2 separate regions of the Homo sapiens genome follow, and region 1 is linked to region 2. The links are contacts of gene promoters, found by promoter capture Hi-C in blood cells and fetal thymus (Javierre and others, 2016). All regions are on one chromosome and are shown on one strand. The core of a region is centred on a gene start or on the middle of the fragment in contact, and the rest is flanking DNA. Distances in the headings are between cores, read along the strand shown.

The links. Contacts are between HindIII fragments. The CHiCAGO score rates a contact against its expected background, and 5 or more counts as called.
Region 1: a fragment that was not itself captured here is called in contact with the fragment with the promoter of LYRM4 in region 2 in 1 of 17 cell types (neutrophils); the score reaches 5.1 in neutrophils.

The regions. Positions count from the first base shown.
Region 1 is chr6:10,698,137-10,702,776 of GRCh38, reverse strand. It overlaps PAK1IP1 (PAK1 interacting protein 1), which reads right to left. Exons shown (of 10, transcript NM_017906.3): 3 at 288-408; 4 at 138-212. Among named protein-coding and RNA genes, the nearest start is that of PAK1IP1, 5.5 kb to the right of the region's middle. The HindIII fragment of the contact is 1,512 bases long and covers 1,263-2,774 here.
Region 2 is chr6:5,259,545-5,264,001 of GRCh38, reverse strand. LYRM4 (LYR motif containing 4) reads left to right here and starts at 3,052. Exons shown (of 3, transcript NM_020408.6): 1 at 3,052-3,354. The coding sequence starts at 3,269. FARS2 (phenylalanyl-tRNA synthetase 2, mitochondrial) reads right to left here and starts at 2,489. Exons shown (of 7, transcript NM_006567.5): 1 at 2,342-2,489. RefSeq lists silencers at 2,972-3,191, 3,252-3,561 and an enhancer at 3,772-3,821. The HindIII fragment of the contact is 1,910 bases long and covers 2,002-3,911 here.

The DNA.
Region 1 (4,640 bases), core at 769-3,268, 5.4 Mb before region 2:
CATTCTACCACTATGAACCACTATGAAAAGGTTCACCAGCTTTTGACCTTTCCCTTGTATAACAGTATTTTTAGATGGTGGAGAGCTGTAGTAAAACACACACCTTAGATAAATGCTCTTGAGCATTAATGACTTACCTTAAAGTTTTATCTGTACCAACCGACAGGGCCAACTTGCCAGATGGGTGAATAGAAAGGAAGGTCACCTGTCCTCTATAATGAAACCAAAAGTTAGTCCCCAACTTGACTGGCACATCGAGAATGCCAAAGGGAAAGAGCCCGACTCACTTGTGAGCTTTAATTGACTTCAGGCATTCCCATTTCTTTGCATCCCAGATACAGATGAGTCCATCTTCCGCTCCACTGATTAAATGCCTGTTGCCATAGAATTTCAGGCAAGTTATTGTACCTATGGAAAAACCAAAATAGGCAAAAATAATATTCATTTTAAATGCAAACTCCATTTCTGATTTGAAGGCTATGCTATGCTAAGTAAAACACTCAATACCTTTTTTTCTTTTTCTTTTTTTTTTTTTTGAGGCAGGGTTTCACTCTTGTTACCCAGGCTGAAGTGCTATGGCATGATCTTATCCCACTGCAACCTCTGCCTCCTGGGTTCAAGCAATCTTCCCACCTCAGCCTCCTGAGTAACTGGGACTACAGGTGCACATCAATATACCTAGCTAATTTTTGTATTTTTTGTAGATACAGTGTTTCACCATGCCATGTTGCCCAGGCTGGTCTTGAACTCCTGGGCCCAAGTGATCTGCCCACCTCAGCCTCCCAAAGTGCTGGGATTACAGGTGTGAGCCACTGTGCCTGGCCTCAATGTCTTAATATTACTAAAACATACCTTAAATTTTTTCATGTAAGTACAGTTGTTCAAATCTATGCAAATATTTTCAGCAGAGTATCTCCAGTTTAGATACAGATTTGAACAAATCAGTTCACGTCCTTGCTTTATGTCTTCAAATTATAAATTTAGGAGGTGGCTGGCTAGGATAGTTTGAGCAGAAGTAAACAAAACTAATCAGCTAACAAGCTAATCTGGGGAACAAACCAGGTGTACTGCCACATGACTTCCACTTTCTAAACAGTGAATTAGCTACCCAATCAGCCACAATCCAATCCTTATCACTCAGATCTGTTTTGATCCATTTCCACACACTTCTCATTCATTTGTTCATATTTTCCTCTCCCTATTATCCTATTTCTCACTTTGGAAAGTTTGGTTTCCCACATTTGCTTCCCTAGAAAAAAGCTTATCTATTAGCAACTCTTAGAAAAATAGGATTTATGCACCCATAAAAAGGAATGAGATCATGTCCTTTGCAGGGATGTGGATGGAGTTGGAAGCCATTATCCCCAGCAAACTAATGCAGGAAGAGAAAATTAAACACTGGCTAGGCGAGGTGGCTCATGCCTGTAATCCCAGCACTTTGGGAGACCGAGACAGGCAGATCACTTGAGGTCAGGAGTTCAATACCAGCCTGGCCAACATGGCGAAACCCCGTCTCTACTGAAAATACAAAAATTAGCTGGATGTGGTGGTGTGTGCCTGTAGTCCCAGCTACTCAGGAGGCTGAGGCACAAGAATCGCTTGAACCCGGGAGATGGAGGTTGCAGTGAGCCGAGCTCTGCCACTGCACTCCAGCCTGGGTGACAGAGAAAGACTGCATCTCAAAAAAGAAGGAAAGAAAGAAATAGAAAAGAAAAGAAAAAGAAAACCAAACACCACATGTTCTCACACAGGGGAAAAACAACACACACTGGGGCCTGTGGGAGGGGAAGGGTTGCGGGAAGGAGAGCATTAGAAAGAACAGCTAATGGATGCTGGGCTTAATACCTAGGTGATGGGATGATCTGTAAAGCAAACCACCATGGGACGTTTACCTACGTAACAAACCTGCACATCCTGCATGTGTACCCCTGAACTTAAAAGTTGAAGGAAAAAAAGAAAAAAGAAAAAAAGGATTTATACAAGAAATAAAGGAAACCAAGAAACCAAGAGCCCTACTTCATTCACCCCCCAATCTAAACTCCTTCTATGTAATTCCTTTTCTTATTGTTGAACACTTGTACTAATGGGTTTGGGCAGATCAAATTTAACTTATTTCTTCCAAACCTGAGAGAGAAGCCTTCTTTGTAACAAACTAGGACTAGGAGATAGAGAAAAAAAGAATGTATATTTGAATCACTCAAAGCTCAGCTTCTGATGAAGAGCAAGACAGCTGTTAAAGCAGCAATGGACAGTCTGCCATGTGTGAAAGTGTCCCCCAAAATTCATTTGCTGAAACTTAGTTGCCAATGTGATAGTTTAAGAGGTGAGACCTTTAGGAGGTGATGGTGACTAAGTCATAAGGGCAAACCCTCATGAACGGGATTAGAGGACTGGCGACATTATAAAAGTTGTTTTTTTTGGCAGGGCGCGGTGGCTCACGCCTGTAATCCCAGCACTTTGGGAGGCTGAGGCGGGCGGATCACTTGAGGTCAAGAGTTCAAGACCAGCTTGGCCAACATGGTTAGACCCGTCTCTACTAAAAATACAAAAATTAGCTGGGCGTGGTGGCAGGCACCTATAATCCAAGCTACCTGGGAGGCTGAGGCAGGAGAATCGCTTAAACCCAGGAGGCAGAAGCTGCAGTGAGCCGAGATCGCGCCACTGCACTCCAGCCTGGGTGACAGAGCGAGAAGCCCCCCCGCCCCCGCCAAAAAAAAAGTTGTTTTTTTCGTTTGTTTGTTTGCTTTTTTTAAACTGGCTCCAACTCTCAAGCTTGACCTTACAGAATTGTGCAGGGATCTGCTTTGCCCTTCTACCATGAGGACACAGCAACAGAGAGCCAGTCCTTACGAGACAAGAAAATCTGCTGGTGCCTTAATCTTAGACTTCCCAGCCTCTACAACTGTGAGAAATAAATCTCTATTATTGATAAATTATTCAGTCTAAGGTATTTTGTTATAGCAGTCTGAATAAACTAAGGGAACACCTAATAGAAGGAAGCCATTTATCGCTGCAAATTTACTGCTGGAAACCAATGCCTGGTGTGGATCCTCTGAAATACATGTAAGATTGGGTAGGAAAAAGGGCACCATTTTATCTGCCTTTCTTTGCAGAAAACCAACTTTCTTGGCTGAGTTACTCCTCATTCTCTGTCCCCTGGGAAAATGCAACAAAAACAGCATAAAATGTTTGGTACTGAAGAAAAAAATTTACCTGTTCAGTCTTTCTCTCCCTTGATTCTGCCACTATCCTGGGTACCTTGACCACCAGTGTGGAAAACCAAACCACAAGCCGGGAACTGTAGTACTACTTCTTGACTTCAACTCCAGTGACCTTTGCCTCCCCTGCATTTCAGTCCCCTACACCCACAGCCTGGGCATCGTTACCACATAGAGCTGTTCCACGTTAGAACTCTTGACCTCTAGGAAGCTATTTGCTGACCACAAGCTCACATCTTCCCATCCCTTTCATGCCTCTCTGCACTCACACTCCACCTGCTTTTGTATTTCAGAGATCTCCAGGCCCTTGACAACACATTTTCTTTTCTTTTCCTCTTTTTTTTTTTTTTTTTTTTTTGAGACAGAGTCTCGCTCTGTCGCCTAGGCTAGAGTGCAGTGGCACAGTCTCAGCTCACTGCACACTCTGCCTCCCCAGGTTCAAGCGATTCTCCTGCCTCAGCCTCCTAAGTAGCTGGGACTACAGGTACGTGCCACCATGCCCAGCTAAGGTTATGTATTTTTCGTAGAGACGGGGTTTCTCCTTGTTAGCCAGGATGGTCTCAATCTCCTGACCTCACGCTCGGCCCACCTCGGCCTCCCAAAGTGCTGGGATTACAGGCGCGAGCCACCGCGCCTGGCCTTTGACAACACATTTTCTCTATGTTGACAACCTAATCCACTCCTTCACCAAAATTCTTAATTCTCTTGTAACTCAATCCTTCTACCGCACACACCAAGTAACCTTCCTCTCTCTAGGGAAATGTCTGTGGCTTATTACTGAATAAACTCAGAAAATCTTGCAAACTGATGTTACTCAATCCGTAGCTGCCAATTCCAATGGGGCAGGCCTTCATCAGTCCTTCTGTTGGGGTTCTCAGTCAGCACCCCTCCGATACAAACTGGCAGTACTTTCCTCAAGCCCACATCATTCATTTGCTAGCTTGCTCCCTCCCTCCCTCCCAATTCAGTCTCTAACTGGCTCTCTCAAGGACTCCAGGATCTGGTCCCATCTACTTCTCTAGCCCCTCAAACTCCCAATTTAACCTTCTCATAATCCGGAACTGCTTACGGTTCCCTATGAACACCAGTGGTCAAAAGCATGGGCTCTAGGCCCAGGTTCAAGTTCTAGTTCCAGTGTTTGAGACCTTCGGCAAGTCAAGTAACATCTTTGAAACTAGGTGTTCTCTTCTACTTTCTTGGCACACAGAGGGGTACATAATATGCCCTCAATAAAGTCAGATATTGCTATGACGCTACATCTTTGAAACTAGGTGTTCTCTTCTACTTTCTTGGCACACAGAGGGGTACATAATATGCCCTCAATAAAGTCAGATATTGCTGTGACGCTACATCTTTGAAACTAGGTGTTCTCTTCTACTTTCTTGGCACACAGAGGGGTACATAATATGCCCTCAATAAAGT
Region 2 (4,457 bases), core at 1,803-4,302:
GGGCTCAAGCAATCCACCTGCCTCAACCTCCCAAAGTGCTGGGATTACAGGTGTGAGCCACCATGCCCAGCTGAACAATTTCTAAATAATATCGTAAGTTACTACTACTATACAAATTTTACTTTATACATCATTTTGATATTTAAGCTTAAGGACAGTAAATTGTTGTTACACTGTTTATTATGATTAGAGAAATTTCTCTTCACAAAGCATTAAGTGGTCATTAACAACCCTAATTTTAATAGAAGGTAACACATGATCTTCCATAAAGAACTACAGGTAGTCGATAACTTTTGATAAATGAATACTAAAGAAATTTTTACGTTTTGATGCCTAAATGGTACCTCCTGTTTTACAGATACTCTCTAAGAAAAATTTCAACCCAGAATAGAATGACTATTAAAGGACGTATGTGTAAGGTCCATTCTTCAGCTTCTGGCCCAAATCTACTTACAATCTCAAATCGAGTTATTTTTTTTAAGTCATCTCCGCAATGAAGATGTGCAAAAGTGAGATGTAGCTACGGAATGATTATTTTCTTTTAGCCTCTCCAGGCAATGATGTCCAACACATTGGTAAACCATTTTAAATAAAATAATAAGGTATTTTTATGAAGACTTGGCTCAGAATTAACTGGGAAGCCTATCACTTTCCTAACTGCAACCATTGCTCGTACTAACAGAGGACTAAGCTACCCAAACTATTTAAACTATACATATTTATTTGGAAAAGTTTTATTTGATTACAACAAAGTTGAGTAATTTAGATACATTAATTATGTACGTTAATGATTAAATTCCTTGATAATTAGGTAGAAACAATTGTATATAGTAATTATTCCAACTTTACTCTCAAAAGCAAAATATAATAAAATAATGTAATCTTTGCTATTTTTAAAAAAGCCAAAATAATCTTCAAGTTTTTCCTTTTCACTCTGATAGCATTCTCTATCAGTAACTTGCATTAATGTTGTAGCTTTGAGGTGCCGCATATCATTTCATATCACTGGCACACAATAGTGTATCAAGAGAAATCAGCTCTGAATCTTACTCTATAACAATGTGCAATTGCCTTGGTCTTGGATCCTTTAAGAAATAGCAAAGGGAAAACTCAAAAAAGTCCTTTCAATAAAGCAGAGGCTAGATTTGCTCAATGACCTGACCAACCAGGAAGTAATAGAAGTTTTGCTATCCTGTTTAAAAAATAATAATAAACAATAACAGACATGAGATTTTCAAGAAATCAGGGAGGAGACTTAAAGATATCTTAATAAAAGTATTTTCTCTTCAGTGCCTTTTAAAAAATGTCATTGCATCAGGATTAGTAAGAATATCTGGATGCAAGGACACCAGGTTGCAAGTACACTAAAGAATGGTAAGGTCAGAGAAGTGTTTTTTCTGCCTTTAAAGTTCCTGAAAATAGAGGCTGGGCGTGATGACTCACACCTGTAATCCCAGCATTTTGGGAGGCCGAGGCGGGCGGATTGCCTGAGGTCAGGAGTTCGAGACCAGCCTGACCAACATGGTGAAACCCTGTCTCTACTAAAAATACAAAAATTAGCTGGGCGAGGTAGCGCGCGCCTGTAATCCCAGCCACTCAGGAGGCTGAGGCAGGAGAATGGCTTGAACCTGGGAGGCATAGGTTGCAGTGAGCCCGAGATCCCGCCACTGCACTCCAGCCTGGGCGACAGAGCGAGACTCCATCTCAAAAAAAAGAAAAGGAAACAGAAAAGTTCCTGAAAATATAAAGTTGTTTAGACATACAGCAGGTATATCGTTTCAAAACCAAATACACTAAAGCAGATGAGAACACAACCGTGACCAAGTGGTTCGGAGAAAGATGGATTTTAATGCAAAGTTGTTTTGTTTTCACGCATAACGTACTTCTCGCTGTGCTTGAGTGCAGAAAGGTGTGGTTCTTCCTAAGGTTGATTACATAAAGCAAGATTCCAAAAACAAGAAAAGTGCTTTGCAAACACAGTAACTAGGACTGGCTGAAGCTTCCTGCGTCCAGTGCCATGCTCAAAGATCAGAACAAGCAACTTTATCCACCACTTTAATAAGATGATTCAAAAAAGCTGCAGTCTTCTGAAGAAAGCCATGGTTGAAAACTTGCTCCGCTTCTTGGAGAAAGCCTAAAGCCCTAAAGGTCTCTAATTATTCTCCAAAGTCTACAACCCAAGCTGCATTTTATGCATTTATTAGGTTACAAAACCACGGGAACTCTTCACTCAAAAGCAAAAACACATCCGGAAAGAGGAAAAAATCCACGGCCAATGTAAACCCCCTACAACACCAACCGCCCACGTCGTACCCCAGGCTGCAATGAGGCCGGCACTCACCCACCGCTCGCCCGGGAAGCCCAGACCCAGGTGTTTCAAAATCAGAAGTACGGCAGGCTCGTTCGCTCTCACGGGCAAGAATCTTAAACCCCAACTTCAGAGATACCCGCGCACGCTGGGCGCTGCCATTTTGACAGAAAGCGGGCCTGCCCCAGAGGCCCCTACGCAGGTCGCCCTGAGCAGAGCCGGAGTGCCACAGAACCCCTAGCTCATCACCTCCACACCCAGACGTCGCATCCCCCGGCCTGAGGAATGCCAAGAAACCCCACCCTGCCGACCAGGATCAGGCGAAATCAAGTCACCCTTGAAATCCCGCAAACTCTCTCAGGCAGCGCCGAGGGCGACCGCAGCCGGCGTGGGAGGGGCATCGGCGGTCAGGGGCGGGGCGTCGGTGCGGCGGCCTTCGGTAACCCGGGCAACGCGGCCTCCTGGATGTAGGAAGGGGCGCTGCCCCCGAAACACAAATGTCTCCGCCAAGACCCCAGACGGTTCCCAAAGGCTCTCCGTGATGCAACTGCACGTCCCTCGAATGCCTGGGCCTCCGATATCCGTCCGCCAGGAGCTTGGCTGGATGCACGGGCGGCCAGTCCTCTTATTTCCCCGCCCTCCCGCCGCGTGGAGCGGCTGCTGGGTCCCGAGCCTCCGGGCGGGGGCGGGATCGGGGCGGGGCGGAGGCATCTCCCTCCCAGCACCGCCCCCTTAGCTGCCCCGAGCCCTGCCTGCGCCCGCCCCCGAAGCGGCGCGGGACGCCTGGCGCCGTCCGCGATCCGCAGGGCTGCCCGCTTAGGCTTAGGCCCGGCCCGCTGGCAAAGCCGAGCCGCAGCATTTTATTTCGTTCGTGGTTTCCGCACAGGCTGGAGTTTCGTGGGTTGGGTCGTACTTGGGACCTCGGCGAAGAGGACCCGTTTATTTTTTTTTCTTTCCAAAATGGCAGCCTCCAGTCGCGCACAAGTGTTATCTCTGTACCGGGCGATGCTGAGAGAGAGCAAGCGTTTCAGCGCCTACAATTACAGGTGACCCAGCGGGCACCGGGGGCCGGGGGCGGGGGGCCAGGGGCCGGGGACCGGGGGTGCGGGCTGACGCGGAATATCCCCGGGGACTGGGAGCCACCGTGGTTTGCCGGCGGCTGCGAGGCAAGGACCGGGCTCCGCCATCGAAAAGCGTGCTCCTGCCTACAGGTGTGGCCTCTGAGACCTCGGGGAGGAGCCTTTCTTTCTACCAGGGGAGACGTTCATGTCTTGTGACGTTTTCCCCCTAAAGGCTATCTTGGTAGTTATTCTAGGAGCATGATTAGTGTTATGTTTCTGCAGAAGAGAAAAAAGGGATGGAAATCAGTCATTTGTGAAGTTAAGGCCAGTGTGTTGCATATGTAAAACTTCCCTTGAGCACTGGAAGAGTTGAGAGTGGAAGTGGCCAGTGAGTAGTACACTGCGACAAAGCTGAAGGCACACTCTAGCACCTCCCTAAAATTTCCTAGGTGTCGTAATGAGTTCTTTTGGTTGCAAGAATCCATTCTATTTAGGGTATGGTGGAAATGCGTAGCGGAAAAGGAAAAAGGGTCTCACAAGCTTTGGAGCTGAAACCTCAGTTTCTCCTGGCTCACCAGACAGAGATCCCGCTTACTGGACCTTGACAGCAGGATATTGAGGGCCTAAACTCACATCTTTAATATAACACATTCACTTTTTCTCACGCCTCCCCACTCCCCTATTTGCCTATGAGTCTTTTATTGTTACTCTTTGTATGTTTTTTCTAATTCAGAGCCTCTGCTTTCACAGTGTTGCTGGTTCTGACCCATCATTTTCTTATGGATTCTCTCTCTGCATTTTTTTTTAGATTTGTTTTTTGTTTTGTTTTGTTTTTACTAACTACCTGTCTCTCTCTGAGTTTGAGCCATATTCCCATGAGAAAGAATCTGGTTGGATCAACTCATCTCTTTACCTCAAGCCTCACTTAGGTGACTGGCCAGACTGTGGATTGGATGTCATAAGAGCAGAGCCTACCCTTGGAACACACCTGGTTAGGTAGGCCCCCCTCCAGCACGTGTGTGAGCTGGCAGGCCCTGAGATGGGTCTGCCCAGTACAACCTCTGTCAGAGGACAGGAACGCTAAGCCT